Regions from separate parts of the Homo sapiens genome. Here all the other regions are linked to region 1. The links are contacts of gene promoters, found by promoter capture Hi-C in blood cells and fetal thymus (Javierre and others, 2016). All regions are on one chromosome and are shown on one strand. The core of a region is centred on a gene start or on the middle of the fragment in contact, and the rest is flanking DNA. Distances in the headings are between cores, read along the strand shown.

Region 1 (4,115 bases), core at 903-3,402:
GAATTAGCACTTACTCTCTTTAACTATTTATGAGGTCATATCTCTGCTAGTAGATAAGGATCCCCTCAAGGGCTGTGCATGAGTTTCTTCTAGCCTCTAAACCCAGCCCAGGGGGAGTATATTGCAGGATTGCTAGAAATCTTTGTCAATTGAATGAATGACACTTCCTAGAGACACTACACCATAGACGGCACTTGACAACAACAAAAAAAGCCACCCTTTTAGAAGTATACAGTGTTCAGTGCCTCTGCAGCTTTCCTCCACCTTTGGAGAATTACAAGTTTCATTCTAATTCTATCCTGGACTTGCTGACATAGGGTTTACATTTATTAATATATGGCATATCACATGTAAAACTCTGCACAGTCATCTGAAATGCTGGTTGTTATCACCTTCACTTATCACCAAATGCCATAAGGGATGTTTAGTCTTAATAGACACCTAGGCATATGTGTGGTCTTTCAAGAAAGAATTCTCTAAAAATTCAACAGACATGTCTTCAAGTTCAAAATTAGTATAATTCCAAAATGTCTTTTGTCCTCCAAATCAGCCAATACATTTTAAGATAAGATGGTGTTTAACAAACTTTGCCTTAATAGTTTTTATTATCTCTAAAACACAAACAGATAAAAATATTCTATTTGTAAATTAGCTACAAGGAAGTTGAGAAAACTGGAATAAATAATATTTTTGCTTTAAGTTTTAAAAATGAGTCATAACTAAAGCTTTTAAGCAAATTGTAACTAATAATTATGACTTCATAATTTCTAGATTCTGTACACTACCCATGAAATCATATTAAAAATCGCTATTATGAATAAAAGATAATCATGTAATTAAGTTCAGGGGGGCATAAAAGAATCACCACTGAGGTTAAGACAACTTTAAGAATATACCTGAAATTCATCATTATCACCCAGTAATTGCTATGTAAAAACCAGACATTAACATAGATAAGTCAATATCAATCCTAAATTAGACCCACTGAATATAGACTTAAGACATTTTTAGGAAATTAGGAAGACCTTTAATAAATGGAAGGCATTGGAATTTTCACTACATGCTTTTTGATCTTAAAAATAAATTTTTTAAAATCTATCTTTATTAATTGTGGTAAAAAACTTAACATACAATTTACCATCCTAACCATTTGTAAGTGTTTACACTTACAAATTTTAAGTTCAATAGTATTAAATATATTTACATTATTGTACAGTCTCCAAGTGTTTTCATCTTGTAAACTGAAACTCTATATCCATTAAACAACTCTCATTTCTCCTTCCCCCAAGCCCCTGGCAACTACCATTCTAAGTATCATTTATGTGAGTTTGACTACTCCAGATACCTCAGGTAAGTTGAATCATCCAGTATTTGTCTTTTTGTTTCTTTGGTGTGTTTTCCAAGCTTAATTGAAACTTAATTAGGATGAAGCCAAGTTACCCTCCATCATGTATCATCTGTCTATTCAGTACAATGCACTGTGCTAATTTAATGACCCCCTTAACTTAATTACATGATTATCTTTTATTCATAATTTAATGCTATTAACCTAATGAGGTAGGTTATGCACACACACTTTACAGATGAGGAAACTGAGACTTTGCGAGGTGAAACATCTTGTCAATGGTCATAAATCTAATAAGCAGTGGGGCTGCTGATTGCAACTTTATCTATCTTCAAAGCACAGTCTTTTTAACATACCTGTATGCTTTTTGAGATATTTAAAGTTTTTAGGGGATTTCAGCCATCTACATATTTTAAGCAACTCATAGAGTGTTTTGTTTTTGCCTTTGATGGTTAATGTGACCTGGGTTCCTCCTTTTTTTTAAAATAAACTACTTTATTCTAAACCATGTCTCAAGGTATTATTCTATTCTATGTCATGAGGTTTATTCTAACACATGTCCCATAAGCCCACAGAATACCAGTTACCTTCCCTTTATTTAAGCAGGGCTTGATTTGTTAAGCAGCTGGTTTGTTACATTTTTCTGGAAATTATACAACTTCCTAGTGTGTAGCACATATCAATAGTGAAAGGAATATTATTTTTAAAAAATCAGCACTTACATTTGTGGAAGTGAGCCCAAGCTTCTTCAGTTCAGACACATGGTTTTAGTGAATAGAAGTCACTCTACCAAACCCGGGTACTCTTCAAACATGCCTTGCTCCGTATGCAGGCAGGCAACTGCACCCCTGCTTCCTGAGCCACCTGGGACTTGAAGTTCTACCACTGTGGCTCCAAAGCTGCCCAACTAGAAACCCCAAAAGGCAAGAGAACTACGATACCCACAATTCAGGCTCCTCACCCGAAACCAGAAGAGGGCGTATGGCTAGAGTTTCACCCTAAGAAGAAAGGGGAAGCAGGTGGAAAAGCAATTAAAAAAAAATCAGGTGAGTATATCTAAGAACCATCTGTAAATATAATCTTATTTCCATGAAAGGAAATAAAAGTGGTTTAATGTTTGCCAGGGAGTAAGAAGGCACCCTCAGTGTTAGCAATAAGTAAAAAATATTTATGCAAGCAAATCCTCATGCAGCTGGAACTTGCCCCACCAGATTCTCTTTCGGTGATTCAGAGCTGAAGGTGCCTCACTGCCCTGTGGAACAGGTGAATAAAGCCTTCCCAGGTGAGTGACAGTGTCTAACTAGTTCCCCCTTTCCCTCTACATCAGCACTGTGATTGTCACTCAAAGACATAGACATATAGACATAATGGAGACCTTTTGGCATTTCATCTTCTAAAATGCTCTGGATTTTTAAGATAACACTTTAAAATGTGCCTTTTAAAATATAAGCAAGAATAAAGTTTTCTTGATATTTTCTTCCATTTTACTTTCCATTTCTGTGTTTTGTGTTTTCCTTCTGTGTATTTTGTTCAAAATTCAAGAAAGAGAAAATTAGGGGAAAGGGGAAAAAAGGTAAAACTTAGTGAAATGAAATGTGCAATAATTGTTTCACATTTTTTTCCAACATCAGCAACAGAGAATGTTTAAAACAAATGTGTTTCTCTATTTGTTCATACAGCATCTCTCTCTAGCCTATTATCTCCTGTTAGACACAGCCCAGAAAATGAATAGAGACAAGTCCTGGCTGGGTCTGGGTTCAGAAACATAATAGAAGGATTCATCTAATGTAAGTAGATGGCAGAATGGTGACAAAGAAAAAGTTTCCTTTCCCTTTTCTGCACTTTCTCTCCTACTGTTCTAACCACCCCTTCCTCCCTGATGCATCCCTGGCTTCATGCTGCCAGATCACCTAATCCACCCAGATTCCCTTTGAAGTTTCCCCTTGACTCATCCCACAATCCAAACTGAGCTGTTCTGTTTCTTTTTGTCACAGGTTCCTCAACTCTCTACTAGAACCTAGCTTTCCTTTATGTCATTATATTATTTCCAAAACAAATGGTTCTTAATTTCCCCAAACCCTACAGAGGGCATTCTGCATGGCATTTCTCCTCCCTGAAACCATTTTTGCTCATCTTGAAATGTTCAGAGATTTCATTTTTTCCAAAGCTCAATGAAAAACACTCTTCAAGATGTCCTTCTCAGTTTGTCTTAATCTGAGTTATTCTCTTCCTCCTAATCAATTTCATAATATTGCATCTGCTCCTCTCATAACACATTGTATATCTCATTTCATTGGTTTACATGGGTGTGTGTGTACCTATGCAGTCTTACATTCCTATTTGAAGGCAAGGCCTCATTGTATCCCTACTTCATTAACTCATTAATGTACAAGTAGATGTTTGTGATAAACAATCAACACATAAAATAACTGAGATGTTAACTCTAAGGTGTGTGTGTGTTAATGCCTAATGCCATCTTTATGTCTCCCGGAAAACATTTACATTTAAAAAGCTACCTAAATGCCATGCATGAGTACTGTTATCAGAATCCCCCTGCAGTCTGGTCTGGTGTGGCTCCCACAGCCTTTATTTGCAGAAAGGCAAAGCATTAAATCTAGCAATTGAACCCTTGACAGTACCCGAAATGAAAGCCCTAGTGGGTCAGCACTCACTGTTTACCAGCTCCAATCCCTGCTGTGCACTTGCCTTTCTAACAGCTCCCCAAGGACTGGGCTCCCTAGAGTCCTCAGTCCCATGGTCCTGGAAACCT
Region 2 (4,115 bases), core at 430-2,929, 340 kb after region 1:
TGGAAATAGTAATATTTGAAACTAATTCAATCAATTCTATTTGAGCATAAATGAGTTTGGAATGCTTTCCTATTATGATGAATGAGGTGCAGAGGTGAAGAACACAATACGTGAGTAACATGAATGTCACATCTCAGAGCATCACCCATTACTGCCCTGCTGCCCAAAAGGTATACTTAAGAGGACCACAATTTGGGGCTGGAAATACCTAGGGAAGGTGAAACCGAACTGTGAATTCAAAGGGAATGACTAATATGGCAGCCAAGGAAGTATGGCAACCATGCTTTGTAAGCAGTTCACATGCAGGAATCCGATCGCAATCCATGGGGCATCCCATAAGACAAGCTGAACATTGCTAGGAAATCCACCGATGGCAATGGTCAACTTTTATGTGAAAAGGCTAACAGCTAACACCAGAGAGGACTATCTGCAGAGGATAGCACTCCAGCCACCTAGCCAGGGCTTAAGAGTAGGCTGTAGCCTCTGAGTCCCAGGCTATTTTTGCAAGCTTATTCTGACAGAGAACAGACCTATGACAGTGCATCTCAACTTTCTTACATCTTGCTACAAAAAGAAAATCATGGTATTTTTATCCTGAGAAGAAATGGATGAAGCTACTCATAGCAAAGGCTCTGACCACGCACCACATCTGTAACCCTCTACCTCCACATGACAGATAGGAAGCTCCAGTCTGCAGAAAAGTCTGAAGCTTGGTTCTCTAAATGTGGCCTAAAGACAGAGCCAGAGGGAAGGAAGTAAGAGGATCCTAAGGTTCAGACTCAGGGTTAGTGAGGGATCCAGTGTAACTGAGCTCTGCTTAGAAGGCAGATGGCTCTGATCATGCAAAGAAAAGACTTGAAGAGGACACTGAAATGAGCAGAGCAGGGGGAAAGAACAGGGAGCAAACAGGCTTGGGAAGTCAGAAAATTAAGCTTGCATAATTTTACCTAGGCTCAACAGTTGCAGTGTTCCCTTTAAAAAGAAAACATAATCATATTGTTCAAGCATTCATTCATGCAACAAATATCATTGAATCTGTACCACATGATTAATATAGTTTCAGCACTACAAATATACCCATGGGCAAAACAAACACGATCAGGTCTCTAACCTACAAGCTTGAGTCTACTGAGGAAGCCTGATATTAAGTAGTAAGTTCAGATTTTTTTCTCACACATTATGGTAAGTACTATATGGGAAAAGAACTGGATACTTGCTCTGAGGGAGAACAATAAAACCAAGAAACTAAGTACTTTAGATTAAGAGATTAAAAGATGACCTTTTGGAGGAAGGTATATTAAGGTATTCTAAGAAGACGCAGTAAGAAAACATTAGCAATTCTTTTAAAATGCTTTAAATATAAACAAAGTTTATTATTTATATATTATATATACATACAATATTATATATTGTTATGTGTGTAGTAATACATAGTAATATATACAGATGCAGGATTATTGTACAACAGCTAATGACAGACAACTAAAGCCTAGTTAAAAAAAACTGCTTATACTATGAAATATGAAACACCATTACTGGACTCTTACTTTTCTTCTTATATAGAGTAACAGTTAATATTTCATAAAAATATTTAAAGACTCAAGAGAAAAAGAGGGAAAAGAAGTTGCCAGATTTTACTTCTAAATGTATATACTTTTATACCTATGTGTTTCTACAAAAGAAATACTTAATCTTGGTTAATCTTTATGCAATCTTAATATATAACAGCTAATCTGACCAAATAAACTTAGATAGGCTTCACGTTCAAGGGCAGAGTTTTCAAGCTGATAAAAACATTCTGCGCACTAGTGGATGCACCTAGCTCTGAGAAGAATGTCAGTGTAATTGCAACTATTTATAGAATAAGCAGAGAAATTCATTCTGCTATAATATACAGTCTAATTTAAAATGTAGTCAATTCCTAAAAGAGGGTAAAAATTCTAAACTTTGAAATGATGCAACAGGAGGCTAGTGGGCTAATTTTGCTTTTGTATACAAAAGTTTGTGAGCATCTAGAAGGAAATATAAAGGGGTGCTCTAAGTTGCTAGTTATGTATCATGTACAATTTGTGAAAATCCACTCAGTGTACGTGAATGATTTGCATAAACTTTTCTGTTTGTATATTATATATCAATTAAAAGTGGCTCATTTGTTGTTTTTGTTTTGTTTTTAGTTTGAGGGGGAAAAATATCAAGTTCAGGGAAACTTTATCTGGGACACTAGAACAAACTCCTAAAAGGAAAGCTTGGAGTAACTTTCACAAAATTGGAAACTAGTTGGTAAGACAGTTCCAAGTATATTACTTATTGTAAATAAATATACAAGGTGCGATATACAAGAGGTGCACAAAAGCAAATAAAGTCAGAAATCACTGTATTTACCTAAAAGAAAATTTCACTGTAACTGCAGCCTTTAAAAATCAGTGTCATCCTTTAACCTGTATTCTAATCATATTACAGCTTTATCTCACATATGGTCTTCATTTGCAACACCTGGAAAGTTTTATATTTGTGCTTTTGCAATTTCAATCACTGATGCCTACGGCAACTACTCATAAAACTGTAAACACTGCACTTGCCTCTTTCAGTTATAAATAAAGAAGAAAAGTAATCGGATGCTTATGTCACAGGATTCTTAGGGTGTTTCTTTTCCAGCGGGAAAAGCTCTGTAACCGGTGGTGTCCTTGCCCGAGTTTTGCTTGAGCCTGCTGGGCTCATTCTGCCCACTCTGCCCGGCAGCCTGCGCTCACCTCATGCTACCAGCCCGGATCCCATGCCTGCTAAAGGTGAGCCACATGCAGAGTGGCGAGGGGTGTGTGGGTGAGCAAACGTGGGGTCCGGCCACTGTGCACAGCCAGGCACACTGGCTGCCGAGGGACACGCAGCTGTAGGCGCCAACACAGGTGTCGGCTCCCTGTGAAGCTGCGGCTGGACCAAGCATACTGCAAGCAGCTCCCGCTGCTGGCAATGGGGAACGTGGTGGCGCCCAGAAGCTTGGAGACTATAGGAACCGCAGAGTCCCAAAGAGGGTGTCACAGCCCTGGCTCGGGGAGCTCCTAGATCTGAGCTCCCTGAAGGGCCACAGCTCCTCTCCTTCTCTCTTCTCTCCTTCTTGTCACTGCAAGGCGGTGGGCAAGGGGCCTGTTTCAGCCCTGTTTGTGTTACAGCTCTTTTAGTCCCACCATCCCACGGATCCCAACTTCTTCTCCCATGCCCAGGAAGAATGAGGTATGCAGACAACTGGAGGGTGAATAAGGTGAGGAGGTGGTTTATTGAGCGACAGTACAGCTCTCAGGAGACCTAAAGCGGGTAGCTCTTATCCGCAGGCAGGTAGTCCCAAAATCTGCTCAGGCCTCAGCTGAGAGGAGACCCACAGTGTGTAGCTCCACTCTACAGGCAGTCTGTCCTGATGTCTTGCTCAGCCCTCAGCTGAGAGGAGACCCACAACGGGTAGCTCCTCTCTACAGGCAGGTCATCCTGGACATCTGCTCTACTCAAGTCTGGCTGAATCTGGGTGATTCTATGGGTTTCAGGTGGAAGGAAGGGTGTGCTGATTGGTTTATGAGTAGTCATGGGCAGGCTTGGAAAAAGCACCTTAAGTTCTCACTTCGGTGGGCAGAACTGGCAGCCCAGCCCTGAGACTTCGGGCCATCCCAGGCCCGAAGGTGGGGCTTCACCAGGCACCTGACCCTTTCTGCCCAGGAGCCTGTCTGCCTCCCACCCTCAACCTATGGCCACCAGCACCCAGGCTGTTTGTGACAAGGTGCCTGCAGGTCCACACCAAGCCACCCTCAGTCCCCCCTGGCCTCCCTCTTGTGCTCATTTGCACCCAAAGTCCAGAAGGGGCCGAGGAAGCAAGAGACTGGCATGTCAGTGCTGCCCCTAGCATGCGCACACCCGGCCAAGTCATGACAGCACCAGCACTCAGCCTCAACTTTGCTCTGAAATCAGAAAGGGGAGAAGCCAGGCAGGGGAAGCAGGCATTTCCAAGCTTGCAGGGGCAGGGGGCCTTCCCAGGCCCCCAAGAGCACAGGAATACCAGGTTCGCAGCCACAGCTGAGTGGCAGCAGCCGCGCCGGGGAGGGAGGGGCTCCCGCCGCTCCAACTAGGAAGGG
Region 3 (4,115 bases), core at 1,120-3,619, 320 kb after region 1:
ATCAAAAAAGCATGGTACTGGTACCAAAACAGAGGTATAGATCAATGGAACAGAAGAGAGCCCTCAGAAATAACGCCGCATATCTACAACTATCTGATCTTTGACAAACCTGAGAAAAACAAGCAATGGGGAAAGGATTCCCTATTTAATAAATGGTGTTGGGAAAACTGGCTAGCCATATATAGAAAGCTGAAACTGGATCCCTTCCTTACACCTTATACAAAAATTAATTCAAGATGGATTAAAGACATGAACGTTAGACCTAAAACCATAAAAACCCTAGAAGAAAACCTAGGCATTACCATTCAAGACATAGGCATGGGCAAGGACTTCATGTCTAAAACACCAAAAGCAATGGCAACAAAAGCCAAAATTGACAAACGGGATCTAATTAAACTAAAGAGCTTCTGCACAGCAAAAGAAACTACCATCAGAGTGAACAGGCAACCTACAAAATGGGAGAACATTTTCACAACCTACTCATCTGACAAAGGGCTAATATCCAGAATCTACAAAGAACTCAAACAAATTTACAAGAAAAAAACAAACAACCCCATCAACAAGTGGGCCAAGGATATGAACAGACACTTCTCAAAAGAAGACATTTATTCAGCCAAAAGACACATGAAAAAATGCTCATCATCACTGGTCATCAGAGAAATGCAAATCAAAACCACAATGAGATACCATCTCACACCAGTTAGAATGGCGATCATTAAAAAGTCAGGAAACAACAGGTGCTGGAGAGGATGTGGAGAAATAGGAACACTTTTACACTGTTGGTGGGACTGTAAACTAGTTCAACCATTGTGGAAGTCAGTGTGGCGATTCCTCAGGGATCTAGAACTAGAAATACCATTTGACCCAGCCATCCCATTACTGGGTATATACCCAAAGGACTATAAATCATGCTGCTATAAAGACACATGCACACGTATGTTTATTGCGGCACTATTCACAATAGCAAAGACTTGGAACCAACCCAAATGTCCAACAATGATAGACTGAATGAAGAAAATGTGGCACATATATACCATGGAATACTACGCAGCCATAAAAAATGATGAGTTCATGTCCTTTGTAGGGACATGGATGAAATTGGAAATCATCATTCTCAGTAAACTATCGCAAGGACAAAAAACCAAACACTGCATGTTCTCACTCATAGATGGGAATTGAACAATGAGAACACATGGACACAGGAAGGGGAACATCACACTCTGGGGACTGTTGTGGGGTGGGGGGAGGGGGGAGGGATAGCATTAGGAGATATACCTAACGCTAAATGACGAGTTAATGGGTGCGGCACACCAGCATGGCACATGTATACATATGTAACTAACCTGCACGTTGTGCACATGTACCCTAAAACTTAAAGTACAATAATAATAAAATAATAATTAAAAAAAAAAAGAGTGCGGAAGCCTATCCCTGTGAGTGTGGAGACCTCAGGAGACAAAATACATTTTACCTAAGTACAGGCTAACCACTCAATTCATCTTAGCATGAGGCGACACATAAATCCAGGTTTCACAGTCATCTCCAGTTATACTTCCTAGTTCGCTCCCTGTAACATTTGAACCCTTTACATACTGGTGCGTAAACACACCCAGAGAGTCAACCTAAGTGATTTCAAGTAGTCCACTAGGTGGCAGAGGTGTTTACGAGGAAGTGAAGCTCAACAATGCTCAAGTCTCCAATAGTTCAGCAAGCCAGGAAATGAAAGAGAACCTAATTGGAGAATATATGGTATTTCTGAATTACAACATAAATATGTATTAAACTGTGAATCTACCCCACCCCCAAACACATACCACACTACAGGGGTTTCAATTTTAAACAAGATATGAAAAACCATCAAAAATAGCAGCAGCTACCTGAGTCAGCCAACAATGCTATTTTAAATAATTTTTAAATAATTAATAAACATAATTCATCACGTAATTAAAGACAAAAACCACATGGTTATCTCAATAGATGCAGAAAAGGCCTCCAATAAAATTAATCATCCCTTCATATAAAAAACTCCCAATAAACTAGGTATTGATGGAACATACCTCAAAATAATAAGAGCCAATTATGACAAACTCACAATCAGTATCATACTGAATGGGCAAAAGCTGGAAGCATTCCCTTTGAAAACAGGCACAAGACAAGAATGTCCTCTCTCACCATTCCTATTCAACATAGTATTGGAAGTCCTGGCCAGGGCAATCAGGCAAGAGAAAGAAATAAAGGGTATTCAAATAGTAAGAGAGGAAGTAAAACTGTCTCTGTTTGCAGGTGATATAATCCTGTATCTAGAAAACCCCATCATCTCAGCCCAAAAACTTAAGTTGATAAGCAACTTCAGAAAAGTCTCAGGATACAAAATCAATGTGCAAAAATCACAAGCATTCCTATATACCAACAACAGACAAGCAGAGAGCCAAATCATGAATGACTGCGCATTCACAATTGCTACAAAGAGAATAAAATACCTAGGAATATAGCTAACAAGGGAAGTGAAAGACCTCTTCAAGAACTACAAATCATTGTTCAAAGAAATAAGAAAGGACACAAACAAATAGAAAAACATTCTATGCTCATGGATAGGAAGAATCAATATCATGAAACTGTCCATATGCTTAAAGTAATTTATAGATTCAATGCCATTCCCACTAAACTACCATTGACATTCTTCACAGAATTAAAAAAAACAACTTTAGAATTCCTGTGGAAGCAAAAAAGAGCCCATATAGCCAAGACAGTCCTAAGCAAAAAGAACAAAGCTGGAACCATCACACTACCCAACTTCAAACAATACTACAAGGCTACAGTAACCAAAACAGCAAGGTACTGGTACAAAAACAGACACATAGACCAATTGAACATAATAGACACCTCAGAAATAAGACCGCACATCTACAACCATCTGATCTTCGACAAACCTGACCAAAAAAAAGCAATGGGGAAAGGATTCCCTATTTAATAGATGGTTCTGGGAAAACTGGCTAGCCATATGCAGAAAATTGAAACTGGACCTTTTCCTTACACCTTATACAAAAACTAACTCAAGATGGATTAAAGACTTAAATGTAAAACCCAAAACTATAAAAACCCTAGAAGAAAAGCTAGGCAGTATCATTCAGGACATAGGCACGGCCAAAGATTTCATGATGAAAACATCAAAAGCAATGGGAACAAAAGCAAAAATTGACAAATGGGATCTAATTAAACTAAAGAGCTTCTGCGCAGCAAAAAACACTATCATCAGAGTGAACAAAGAACCTACAGAATGGGAAAAAATTTTTGCAAACTATCCATCTGACAAAGGTCTAATATCCAGAATCTACAAGGAACTTAAACAAATGTACAAGAAAAAAAAAAACAACCCCATTAAAAAGTGGGCAAAGGACATGAACAGACACTTCTCAAAAGAAGACATTTATGTGGCCAACAAACATATGAAAAAAAGCTCAACATCATTGATCATTAGAGAAATGCAAATCAAAACCACAATGAGATACCATCTCACACCAGTTAGGATGGCAATTATTAAAAAGTCAAGAAACAACAGATGCTAGTGAGGCTGTGGAAAAACAGAAGCACTTTTACACTGTTGGTAGGAATGTAAATTAGTTCAACCATTGTGGAGGACAGTGTGGCAATTCCTCAAAAACCTAGAAACAGAAATACAATTTGACCCAGCAATCCCATTACTGGGTATATACCCAAAGGAATACAAATCATTCTGTTATAAAGATACATGCACATATATGTTCATTGCAGCACTACTCACAATAGCAAAGAAACAGAATCAACCCAAATACCCATCAATGATAGACTGGATAAAGAAAATGTGGTACATACATACCATGGAATACTACGCAGCCATAAAAAGGAATAAGATCATGTCTTTTGCAGGGACATGGATGGAGCTGGAAGCCATCATCCTCAGCAAACATACACAGTAACAGAAAATCAAACACCATATGCTCTCACTTATAAGTCAGAGCTGAACAATGAGAACACAAGGACACAGAAAGGGGAACAACACACATTGGGGCCTGTCAAGGGGGCAGGGGGAAGTAGAGTATCAGAATAAATAGCTAATGTGTATGGGGCTTAATACC
Region 4 (4,115 bases), core at 1,079-3,578, 300 kb after region 1:
TTCACTATATATACTGTCTTCTCATTCTCCTTTCTCCTACTTCTCATTTGTTCAGTCAACCAATGCATTTTAAAGCATTTCAAGTATTCCAGATACTACCAACTCAAAGGTTAATAAAAACACACTTGTTACCACTCTCATCAACCTCATAATCAAGAATAGAAAATAGACTAAACAATTGTCACATATTTTGACCAAAGTACTAATATAACTAGTACAGAAGTGGTAAATAGAAACAGTGTGTGTGTGTGTTTATTTGTGTGTGTGTGCATGTGTATATTTTTAGTGGTTACAGAATCATGCATGGGAGAGGAAGAGAAGGTATTATTAAGGAATTGGTGCCTGAACATTATCATAAATTATATACCAGACAGATGAAGGCAATGAGAGAGTAATGTAAATTCACTATCATACCTTTCTCAAATGTATTACTTTTGAATTTTGGTATCACTAACTACTCAAATAGTACATACAGATGTACGATTATATTAATGTGTATATTTACCTTGATTATATCACTAAAGTTATCATTCTCTATAAAAAGAGTATCAGAAGATAAAACACATTTCCGCTTGTATTCTCAATATTTCTCTCTCTAAAAATCTATTCAAAAAGCTGTTTTATTTGCTATTAATGTTCACTTAAATCATGGATTAAATGACAAATCAAAAGATTATGGAAAATCTATGGGTTCCTTCATCAGGAATGGGTAATCAAAATGCCCTTGAATAATTTATAATTGAGGTAGGCTCTTTATTGATTCGAGTTTCATTTAAGACGAGAGAAACCTGTAATACAGAATAGAACGTATCACTAGCTATTCCTGTGGCTTAAAAACTGTCTGGTGATCTGAAAAGTAAGGCAGATTAAGCTTCAGGCAGAATATCCAAGAAGTGTCCAGCCCCAGAAATTGTCTCACTGCTGCTACACCCAGGGACATTGCACCTACCAATGAAGAAAGTTGCTGAAAATCAGGAAATTGGTGGCTCAGGTCTATGCTGCCTGTGTCACCACCTGAAGAGCAGAATTATGGTCTCTATCCTAATTAACTTAGTTCAAAATTCAAGTTGACCATCAAAGTACCAGATTGGAGGACCCCAAATCACAACTGAAATCTTAGCCACAAGGACATCTGAGAAATGCTTTACTTTTTCTTTTTAATCTCCAAGCATTACAGTACTAGACGTCCCAGAAGAAAGAGGTTGGAATACATGTTTAAGGGAACCAAGCCACAGAATCCACTACAAAGACTAACCATAATCTTAACAAATGAATAAAGAAGTCAGCTGCAGACTGGAAAAATTATACTCTCCTCATTCAACTGTGAATGTTGAAAAGAAGGTCAGATTGATTTATCTGCCATATTAGAGAAGACTATACTCAAGAACCACATCCAAAACCACTAGGAGCAAGGAAAGTACACTATTGATTTAAGTTAAAATTGTTTGTTAAAAAATATGGGCACGATTTTTGAAAACATTTACACAAACACATTATATTTCTTTAAAGCTAATACAATGCATTTATTATTTCTTCTATGTTTAACTATATTTATTTTTGTTATAAATTTAAGTCTGTTTTAATATATTTATACCAGATAAATATTAAAAACTTTTGTTTGATGGTATATTTGATACTACATAATTTTAATTAATGTATTATGTTTTGATAATATAAGGTTATTCTTTTTACTTTTGAACATTTTAAAATAAAATACTTCAGGGATATTGATAAGAATATACACTTAGTTTCTTAACCTTTTGATTTGAACAAATTGTCATTTCCTCTCATAATGTGCTCACATAACAGAGCCTACTGGGTAAATGCAAGATGAAATAATACTCATAAATACTCCTAAAATCATAAAAGTAAACTTATGGCTTATTTACAACAAAACTTTCAGAAAGGACACATTTGGGAAGTTTTAATTCCAAGTAAAAAAAATTTAGGTACAAATAATTTATCTGAAAACAAGAAAAAGTATTTTCTCAGAGGAAGCATATATTTTGTAAATGTGAATATTGGCAAAAATTTAAAATAATTAATTTTCTGGCAATCGACTCTATTCTGAATGACTTCTTGAAGTCTATGAATTTTATTAACTTTCAAATCCCCATCTAGAAAACAGAGTTAAAATCTTATCAAAAGATAAACTGTGAGGAAAGGAAGCTCTGTGGTTCAGTGAAAAGTCAGATATTGTTAACGAGCGTGAACTGCAGCTGTAACACATGAATCATCATAAGAAGCTGAAAGTCTCACTGTTCAGTGCACAAAACTATTAGTCTAATTTGGCCTCAGCTAAGTGGCAGAGAGTTGGCAATGAGCCAGCTGGAGAGCTGGATGCAGTTATAGTGATTAATTGGATTTTTCTTCTATAAAGCATAGGCAGCTAAGGCTTATTCCCACAAGGACAGAGTAATGATACCAAATACAAGGACTAAAGACAGGATTGGTAATGTCTAGAATAAAATTTTGTAGATATTTTTTGCTGTCTTCAAAAACAGATCCTAGAAGTCACTTAATGAAATTCAAAAAACCTTCTGCCATGCTTCCAGGCCAGCACCATGGAAAGGATTGATTTCATATGCCCCTCCCCCAAGTACCATCTTGTGGATAATCACAGATTATTGTTATTTCTGAATGCTAGGGCTATGAACAATTTTTTGAACAATTTTTAATAACATTTTTGCTTATCTCTATTATTTTTCAAAATAAACATATTTTTGTAAAGAAAAACCTATAAAATATCAAAAAGGTATTTTGCAACCCTCTTCAAAAAAGCAAGTTTTAAAATATAAGTTATAACAGAAATTTTTTTTTCTGCTTTGAACTCTGATAAAGCTATTTCAATGTAGATTCAACAGAGTCACCCGTGAAAAGAAAATATTGCAGCCTATGGAGTATTTTTATTCACAGCATATTATTTGATGACCACAAAAATTCTATCAAGTAGGTGGAGCGAACGTTATTTTTTCCATTTTACAAAGGAGATTGTAATAGCTCCACAGAAATAAATGTTTCGTCCAAAGATACCATAGCTGGTAAATAGCAAAAACAAATTTCCAGTTTGGGCTCTGTATCATTTAAAAAGCAATCTCAATCCCCTCTCCCACATCAAAATAAGCAAACAAAAAATTCCACAAAAATGTTTTAGATTTTAAAAAATCAAATAGTAAAAAATGTTTATATGCTACCAGAAACACTCTAAATTGTTTAAAAGAGAGTTCACCTAAGACATGATCTGGCAATGCTGAATGGAGGAAGGGAGAGGACTTTCTCAGCACTCTCCTCCATTCCCAGGTAACCAATAAATTTATCCTACCAGGGCGTTAGCATCCTTACTTTGTTGTTCTACCCAAAGCAGTGACACTAATGGAGGAAATATGGCCAGGTAAGAGAAGCCCTTCTGACTGGCTGAGGGGAGTGGCACTTTGGCTGGTAAGAGCCTCTTCAGTTCTCCTTACCATTTTGACAAGCCTTGACTAAATTAGAAGATCAAAGAATATTTACATCAACTAATCACAGTATCATATGTCATTGACAAATGATAAAAACCCCAAATACTAAAATTCTCAGGGAATATTTAAACAGACAATAGATGATAGAAGGCTTTCTAGTATATTCTGTAACTGTCTCAAAAGAGATTGAAGAAAAGCACATAATAGATGAAGCATTTTAATATTGAAAATTACAATATACATCAAAATGTTCAGGTTGAATATTGAGTAAAATTTTAACAGTTTTGCTCTTATAAAATAACTCACTGAATTGAGCTACATCCTGCAGAAGCTTTTCTGTACCACCTTGTGGTCCCTTTAAGTTACAAATGGGATTTTTGTAGGTTATTGCTTCTTTTAACCTTAACAGAAATTTCACATTAAATTAAATTTTCTGCTCATCATCACTGGTCATCAGAGAAATGCAAATAAAAACCACAATGAGATACCATCTCACACCAGTTAGAATGGCAATCATTAAAAAGTCAGGAAACAACAGATGCTGGAGAGGATGCAGAGAAATAGGAACGCTTTTACACTGCTGGTGGGAGTGTAAATTAGTTCAACCATTGAGGAATACAGTGTGGTGATTCCTCAAGGATCTAGAACTAGAAATAC
Region 5 (4,115 bases), core at 659-3,158, 270 kb after region 1:
TGGAACTAAAGAATTCAATAAATGAAAGAAAAAATACAACTGAGAGCTCCAACAACAGACCAAGCAGAAGAAAGAAAGTTGTTGTTGTTTTTTCTTTTTTTTTGAGACAGAGTCTCACTCTGTTGCCAGGCTGGAGTGCAGTGGCATGATCTCAGCTCACTGAAACATCCACCTCCCAGGTTCAAGCAATTCTCCTGCCTCAGCGTCCAAAGTAGCTGGGACTACTGGCATATGCCACCACGCCCAGCTAATTTTTTTGTATTTTTATTAAAGACAGGGTTTTACCATGTTGGCCCGGATGGTCTTGATCTCTTGACCTCGTGATCCACCCATCTTGGCCTCCCAAAGTGCTGGGATTACAGGTGTGAGCGACCGCACCTGGCCAGAAGAAACAATTTCTAAATTTGAAGACAGGTCGTTTGAAATAACCCAGTCAGAAACAAACAAACAAAAAAGAATTTAAAATAATGAAGAAAGTCTCTGTGACATGTGGGAAACAATAAAGCAACCAAATATTCAAATGTTGGGAATTTAAGAAGGGGAAGAGAATATAAAAAACATTAAAAGTCCACTAATAAAATAATTGCTGAAAAAAATCCCAAGTTTAGCAAGAAATTTAAACATCCAGATACTGGAAGCTCAGAGATCCTGAAATAAATATAAACCAAAGGTCTTCTTTAAGGCACATTATAGCCAAATTGTCAAAAGTCAAAGACAAAGAGATAATTCTAAAAACAGTAAGAGAAAAGCATCTAGTCACTTGTAAGGGAACTCTCATCAGACTAAGCAAATTTTTCAGCAGAAACCTTTCAGGCCAGGAGAGAACAGGATGATATATTCAAAGAACTGAAAGACAAAAGAAAATCAGCCAAGAATACTTATTACTTATAAATGAAGGAAAAATAAAGTCTTTCCCAGACAAGCAAAAGCTGAAGGAATTTATCACCACTAGACCAGTCCTACTTCAAAAGCCTAAGGGAATGCTACACCTAGATGCAAAAGGATGATACCTACCATGAACAAAACACACAAAACTATGAAAACCAATGGTAGAGAAAACACATAAATAAGAAAGAGGACACAAATGTCAAGACTACAGAAACCATCAAATCACAATGACAAACATAAGAGACAAAGGAAGGAACAAAGAATATAAAAAACAATTAGGAATTAATTAATAAAAATACAGTAATAAGCTCTCACATATCAATAACAATCTTCAATGTGAATGAATTAAACTTTCCACTTAAAAAATATAGGCTGGTTGAATGAATTAAAAAACATGATCCAACTATATGCTGCCTATAGGAAACTTATCTGTAAAGACACATATATACTGAAAGTAAAGAGAGAGAAAAGGATATTCCATGCAAATGCAAGCCAAAAGTGAGCAGGAGTAGCTATATTTATGTCAGATGAAAGAAACTTTAAGTAAAAAACAATAAATAGAGACAAAGAATTGTTACATCCTCTTGCTGAATTAATCCTTTTATCATTATATAAATATGGGGATACATATAAAGATAAAGCAATTAGTTCAGCAAGAGGCTATAACAATTCAAAATATATATGCACCCAACTTTGATGCACCCAGATATATAAAGCAAATATTAGATCTAAAGGAAGAAATAGACTCCAATACACTATTAGTTGGGGTCTTCAACACCCTACTCGCAGCATTAGGAAGATTATTTACACAGAAAATTAACAAAGAAATATTGAATTTAAACTATACTTTAAAAACCATATGGACCTAACACATTTACAGAACATTTTATCCAATAGCCACAGAATAAACATTCTTCTCATCAGCACATAGAACATTATCCAGGATGGACCATATATTAGACCACAAAACAAGCCCCAGCAAATTTTTAAAAACCAAAATTATATCAAGATTATTTTCAGACAACAATGGAATAAAACTATAAAGCAATTACAATAATTTTCATCTGTTTTGTTTACTGCTGTATTCCCAGAATCTAAAGTAATGCTTACTACAATGTTGATGCTGAATATTTATTGATCTAATAAGTGATGTTAAATTTACATTTATTTTACAAATTCTCTAAGATATTTTTACTTAGATGATATTTTAGAACTACATGTTTAAGTCAGAATATCCCTTAAATAGAGGTTTGTTAAACTTAAAAAGCAATTTCTTTAGAAATGACATCCTTACTCCAAACTTTGTGAATCCTATTATCTCCAAGTATTTGACTTTTATTATATGTCAAAGTATTTTTATACATATATAACTACAGGAAAATTATACATAGTATAATATAATATATATAAGTAATATGTATATATTACTACAGGAAAATTATATGTAAAGACACATAGAAAGTAAAGAGATGAAAAAGGTATAAAGTGTGTGTGTGTATATATTTATAAATATGTGTATAAAAATATACTTTATATACAAATAAACCTTATATACCTTGGATTGGAGATAGACATACATATCTACACGCCCTGTGCAAGTCTGAAATCCAGCCCTACTGGGGGTCTGTAGCCCCTTTCTTTTGGCCAATTTTTCCCTTTTGGAATGGGAGTATTCACCTAATGCCTGTATCCCCATTGTATCTTAGGAATAACTAACTTGTTTTTTATTTTACAGGTGGAGGAGGCTAGCCTAGTCTCAGACAAGACTTTGGACTTTGGACTTTTCAGTTAATGCTTGAAATGAGTTAAGACTTTTGGGGACTGCTGGGAAGGCATGACTGTATTTTGAAATGTGAGAAGGACATGAGATTTGGGAGGGGCCAGGAGAAGAATAATACAGGTTGGATCTGTGTCCCCACCCAAATCTCATGTGGAATTGTAATCCCCAATGTTGGAGGTGGGGCCTGGTGGGAGGTGATGGAATCATGGCGGCAGCTTCTCATGGTTTAACACCATCCCACTTAAGACTGCAGAGTAAGTGAATTATCACAAGATTTGGTTTTTTAAAAGTGTGTGGCACCTTCCCCGTCTCTCTCTTCTTCTGCTCCAGCCAAGTAAAATGTGCCTGTTTTCCCTTTGTTTGTCGCTATGGTTGTAAGTTTCCTGAGGCTTCCCCAGAAGCAGAAGATGCTATGCTTCCTGTACAGCCTGCAGAACCATGAACCAATTAAACCTCTTTTTTTTTTAAATAACCAGTCTCAGGTATTGCTTTATAGCAGTGTGAGAACAGACTAATACAACCACCTCTACATAAATCTGGAGTTGTCTTCTTCTAGGATGGGGTACAACTAGTGAGGATTCATGGCCTGGCCATGGCCATCTTCCAAGAAGACTTCATCACCAAATCTGTTCTTAATTAATTGCACCTGGTTTTGGGATGTTATCTCTATTGCATTTTAATGTCTGCAAAAATATCCTTTGGCATTAACATTTAATGACATCATCTTCACATACATTGGACAAAGCCTCTTTCATTCTTGTGTGTGATTTTCTAATACACTGTTATATTCATAAACTCTGGAAGTTTATTAGGAGACAACAAGAAATAAAAGATTTCAGACTAAGACAGAAACCTTCAAAGAAAATATCCCAAAACTTGTGACATGATTTTAAACTCCTATCCCTATTAAAGTTACAAAATAACCAGATTTTTTGAATATTAAAAGTACTGCTTTTAATACACAAAAATTTGAATGTGTCCCCTGAAATTGATGACATAGCAGACTTACATCTAACTCACCTGATAAGTCAGCTTGCTGATGAATAACAGGCAGGTTGGAAAGGTGGCTACTTTTAGATCTATCTTTATTCCTTCAGTTTATTGAAACAAAAGATACATGAATGCTTACCTCTCCCTTGGACCGGATTACATAGCAGCATTAGCTAAGACACCTAATGTTATAGAGAATCATGAAACATATATTTGTGGCCATAAAACCCAAAGAAAATCTATATATTATTTCTAATATATAAAATAAAAATACGATGTGTATGTTAGACTTTTCTTCACAGGAATATAAATTCTACTCAGGATTACATTGAAGGTAAAATGTACATGTTAATGCCACTTTTTGTCTTATTACTGTCAGGAGACATCAGAGGATTCAAATTTTGCTAGAAACTCACCCTGGTTGTTTTAGTTACTAATCCTCTTATTGCAACATATT
Region 6 (4,115 bases), core at 1,148-3,647, 260 kb before region 1:
CTATGTCCGACTAATTCCCTTTGGTTGCCACACATAAAACTTACTAGTGTGTGCGGTGGGTTACAGTTTAAAATTATCTTCACATGCTTCTTACCATTAATTCTCAAAACAACCATATTTTATGTAAGAATAAACTATCTTAGAGAGGCTAAGGTACGTAGTTTTCTAGTAACTGATAATGGCAGGATTTGAACACAAATCTTCTGGATACCAAATCCCCATTGCACTTGTGTTTCCCAAGAATGCTTGGCTCATTGTGTTCATTTCCTAGGGATCTGTGAGAATTTAAACTTCACAGATAATTTAGGGTATCTGGTGGAAAAAAATTCTAAGAACCAAAACATTTCAATGTGACTTGGTTGCTTCTAACAACCTAACTTCAGATGAGGGTACAAATAAATAACTTAAAGTTGAAACTTATATTTAAAAGGGAAGCAGAGCATAAAAGTTTAGAAAATTTACAGCCTGGTCATGTGGCAGAGAAAGAAAAAGCTTTTACTGGAGCAACCATTTGCTAGAGAAAGTTGCATAACTAAAAGGGAGCCAAGTGCTGATAGCCAAGATGATAGGAAAAAGGCCTTGAAGGCATTTCAGAGACCTTTGCAGCAGCCCCTCTCATCACAGTCCTGAATGCCTAGGAGGGAAGAATGGTTTTGTGGGACAGGCCTAGGGCCTTGCTTCCCTGCACAGTCTCAGGACAATGTTCCCTACATCCTGGCTGTTCCAGATCCAGCCTTGGCTCAAACGGGCCCAGGTATAGCTTGGTCCATAGCTCCAGAGGGTGCATGCTGTAAGCTTAGGCAGCTTCTATGTAAAGTTAAGTTTTCAGGTACACAGAGTGTAAGAGTTGAGCCTTGGTAGCCTCAGCCTAGATTTCAGAGGATATATGAGAAAGTCTCTGTGTCCAGGCAGAAGCCTGCTGTTGTGATGGAGCCCCTCACAGAGAGCCTCTACTAAGGGAGTGTGGAGGAGAAATGTGGAGTTGGAGGCCTCACACAGAGTCCCCACTGGGGCATTGCCTAGTGAAACTGTGGGAAGAAGGCCACCATCCTCCAGACCTGAGAATGGTAGATATACCAGTAGCTTGCACTCTGCATGTAGTAAAGGGGCAGTCACTCAACTCCAGCCTGTAAGAGCAGCCTTGGGGTATGCACTCTGAAAAGCCACAGGTGGAGCTGCCTAAGGCCTTGAGAGCCCACCTTCTGCACCCATTTTCCCTGGATGGGGGACATGTAGTCAATGGAGATGACTTTGGAGCTTTAAGACTTAATGACTGCCCCATGGGGTTTTGAACTTGTATGGGGCATGTAGCCCCTTTCTTTTTGATGACTTCTGTCTTTTGGAACAGGAATGTTTACCCAATGCCTGAACTCCCACTGTATCTTGGAAGCAACTAACTTATTATTTATTTATTTATTTATTTTTACAGCTCATAGGTAAAAGAAACTCATTTCCAGATAATACTGTGGATTTGGAACTTGGGACTTTTGGATTAATGCTGGAATGAGTTAAGATTTTGGGGGGACTACTGAGAAGAGATTATTATATTTTGAAATGTGAGGACATAAGATTTGAAGGGGGCCGGGGTGAAATGATACAGTTCAAATACATGACCCCATCCAAATCTCATGTTAAATTAGATTCTCCAGTGCTGTAGGTGTGGTCTGGAGGGAGGTATTTAGATTATGGGGGTGGATCCCTCGTAGCTTGGTGCTGTCTTTGTGATAGTGAGTTCTCATCAGATGTGTTCCTTTAGAAGTATGTGGCACCTCCCCACCCCAATCGCTTTCTTGCTCCTGCTTTTGCCAAGTGACACGCCTGCTCCCCCTCTGCCTTTTGCCATGACTGTAAGCTTCCTGAGGCCTTTCTAGACGGTGAGCAGATGCCAGCACCATGCTTCCTGTAAAGCCTGCAGAATCCTGAGCCAGTTAAATCTCTTTTCTTTATAAATTACCCAGTCTCGGATATTTCTTTATAGCAATGTGAGAATGGCCTAATACACAGTTCTTATAAGATTGATGACTAGGGAAAAACACAAGTGAGATGGAGATTTGGTGTTCAGAGCATTTGTGTTCAAATCCTGCCATTACCAGTTACTAGCAAACTAAGTAACTTAGCCTCTCTAAGGGAGTTTGCTTTTACACAAAATATAGTTGTTTTGAGAATTAAATGGTAGGAAGCCTGCAAAGATAATTTTAACCTGTAACCAGTTGCACATACTAGTCAGATTTATGTGTGATGACCAAAGGGAATTAATCAGAAAGATATAGTAGATAGTGCACAATGAGAGCACTTCTCAGATAAGTAATGTTATTGAGGGCTTTCAAAAGTGTTCTGTATCTTTCCCAAGCCTTGCTTTTATTTTTTTTAACTGAGATGGAGTCTCACTCTGTCACCCAGGCTGGAGTGCAGTGGTACAGCCTTGGCTTACTGCAACCTCTGCCACCCATGTTCAAGCAATTCTCCTGCCTCAGCCCCTCGAGTAGCTGGGATTACAGGTGCCTGTAATAACTGTCATCAAGAAAATTTTCACAACTCGTATATACCCCATAAATGCTAACTTTAGAATCCAGTATTTTAAAATCACACAGTGTAAAGTTTTTAATATATATATACATTTTTTTAAAACAAATGAGAATGCAGAGAATAATGGGTTTCAATACAGTTTACCTTTGGGAGTACTTTATTCCTCAATTTGTCTATTTTATGTATACTCACATCTGGTTGGTGCTAATAAAAAATGAATTTCATATTTCTTCTTCGTCATTAAAAATACCTAAATAGTTTTTCTAACTTTTAAATTTTATATATCATTGCTTTCTAGTATCACAGGAAATTGTGTGCGTGTGTGTGTGTGTGTGTGTGTGTGTGTCAGAGAGGGAAAGAGAGAGAGAGCAAGAGATTCTGTCATCAGATGCTCTAGATCCTATCTCCACTGTAATGAAGCTTCAGCAAAATTTGAAAGGCCTGTGTGTTTTTGTTTTAATAAATTCATCCCTGAGAAAATGAGTCAGACTAAATAAAAAGTGGGGCAGTGAAGGAGATTCAGAAAGATAATAGCCCAGTATGCCAAGAAGATATAAGCATGGCTGAGCCAATTCATTCTCTGGTGTTTCTTAATTTTCCTTGTGACTTCTAATAATATACCTATTTATTGATACAGACCCCAGAGATATGAATAGAAACACCATTTTAAAATATATTTGTATGGTTGTTGTAAACATGCAGTCTCTGTTACCCTTTGTAATGCTTACAAAAAAAGTCATTTAAATTGTGGTATTTTTGTAAAGTGCACCTATAGCAAATGACAGAGCCAGTCTGAATTATAAATCCATTTAAGCACTCAATCATCAAAATTAGTAATGCTGAGAAATGGGGCACGTTGAAGAAATAGGCTAGATTTAGAATGAGTTAGATAAGATGATATGACTTAAAAGGAAGAGTGACTCAGGACCACAAAGTTAGGTTTACTCTTAGGCTAACTCAACCACCAAAGGGTATACTATTTGCCACCTAAGAATTGGGTACGTTTATGCTCTTACCGCATTGATTTTCAACCAAGCCATGGGTCACTTAACAACATCTGGACACATTTCTGGTTGTCACAACTGAAAGGAGGTGCTATTGGCATTTAGCGGGTAGATGCCAAAGATGTTACTAAACATCCTGCAATCACAGGACAGCTCACACAGCAAAGAATTATTTGCCCCAAAGTGTCAATAGTGTCATGGTTGAGAAATCCTGCTTTACAGGAATTCTCAGGAAGTATTTTTTTTATATTGGGCAATGTTGTTATTAACTGAAAAGGCACCTTGGTTACTGTGGTTTTAACTGGAAAATTACATTTAGTTGGATTATTACCATGTTGAAATATTAATGACTTGGTGACATAATAAAAATAACACTACAAACATTTTTAAGAGTCATTAATTATAAAGAGTTTAGGAAGTTACCAAAACCCTTACAGCTGATATTTAGTACTGCATGTTCCAGTTTGCTAATGCTACAATATAACATCTGATAAAACTCTAATTATGAAACAGTTTTACAATAAAATTTCATATGAGCATTTCACTGTTATTATTTTTCACACAATAAGCCCATTTTCTTTTTAG

What was found. The method cuts DNA at HindIII sites, captures the fragments that hold promoters and counts their contacts. A CHiCAGO score of 5 or more calls a contact.
Region 2: a fragment that was not itself captured here is called in contact with the fragment with the promoter of MACC1 in region 1 in 1 of 17 cell types (monocytes); the score reaches 6.3 in monocytes.
Region 3: a fragment that was not itself captured here is called in contact with the fragment with the promoter of MACC1 in region 1 in 1 of 17 cell types (monocytes); the score reaches 6.3 in monocytes.
Region 4: a fragment that was not itself captured here is called in contact with the fragment with the promoter of MACC1 in region 1 in 1 of 17 cell types (monocytes); the score reaches 6.7 in monocytes.
Region 5: a contact is called between a fragment that was not itself captured here and the fragment with the promoter of MACC1 in region 1, in 1 of 17 cell types (monocytes). The highest score is 6.7, in monocytes.
Region 6: a fragment that was not itself captured here is called in contact with the fragment with the promoter of MACC1 in region 1 in 1 of 17 cell types (M2 macrophages); the score reaches 5.7 in M2 macrophages.

Annotation. Positions count from the first base shown.
Region 1 is chr7:20,215,232-20,219,346 of GRCh38, forward strand. MACC1 (MET transcriptional regulator MACC1) reads right to left here and starts at 2,153. Exons shown (of 7, transcript NM_182762.4): 1 at 2,068-2,153. GIRGL (glutamine insufficiency regulator of glutaminase lncRNA) reads left to right here and starts at 2,346. Exons shown (of 4, transcript NR_134569.1): 1 at 2,346-2,391; 2 at 3,025-3,132. RefSeq lists an enhancer at 1,978-3,177. The HindIII fragment of the contact is 5,395 bases long and covers 2,087-4,115 here.
Region 2 is chr7:20,556,639-20,560,753 of GRCh38, forward strand. No RefSeq gene overlaps it. Among named protein-coding and RNA genes, the nearest start is that of ABCB5, 57 kb to the right of the region's middle. RefSeq lists enhancers at 2,844-3,344, 3,565-4,065, 3,968-4,115. The HindIII fragment of the contact is 1,127 bases long and covers 1,117-2,243 here.
Region 3 is chr7:20,537,756-20,541,870 of GRCh38, forward strand. No RefSeq gene overlaps it. Among named protein-coding and RNA genes, the nearest start is that of ABCB5, 76 kb to the right of the region's middle. The HindIII fragment of the contact is 6,913 bases long and covers 1-4,115 here.
Region 4 is chr7:20,512,267-20,516,381 of GRCh38, forward strand. No RefSeq gene overlaps it. Among named protein-coding and RNA genes, the nearest start is that of ABCB5, 100 kb to the right of the region's middle. The HindIII fragment of the contact is 2,918 bases long and covers 870-3,787 here.
Region 5 is chr7:20,488,114-20,492,228 of GRCh38, forward strand. No RefSeq gene overlaps it. Among named protein-coding and RNA genes, the nearest start is that of ABCB5, 130 kb to the right of the region's middle. The HindIII fragment of the contact is 6,088 bases long and covers 1-4,115 here.
Region 6 is chr7:19,954,875-19,958,989 of GRCh38, forward strand. The region is part of intron 5 of MACC1-OT1 (MACC1 3' UTR overlapping transcript 1); the gene reads right to left. Among named protein-coding and RNA genes, the nearest start is that of TMEM196, 180 kb to the left of the region's middle. The HindIII fragment of the contact is 1,094 bases long and covers 1,851-2,944 here.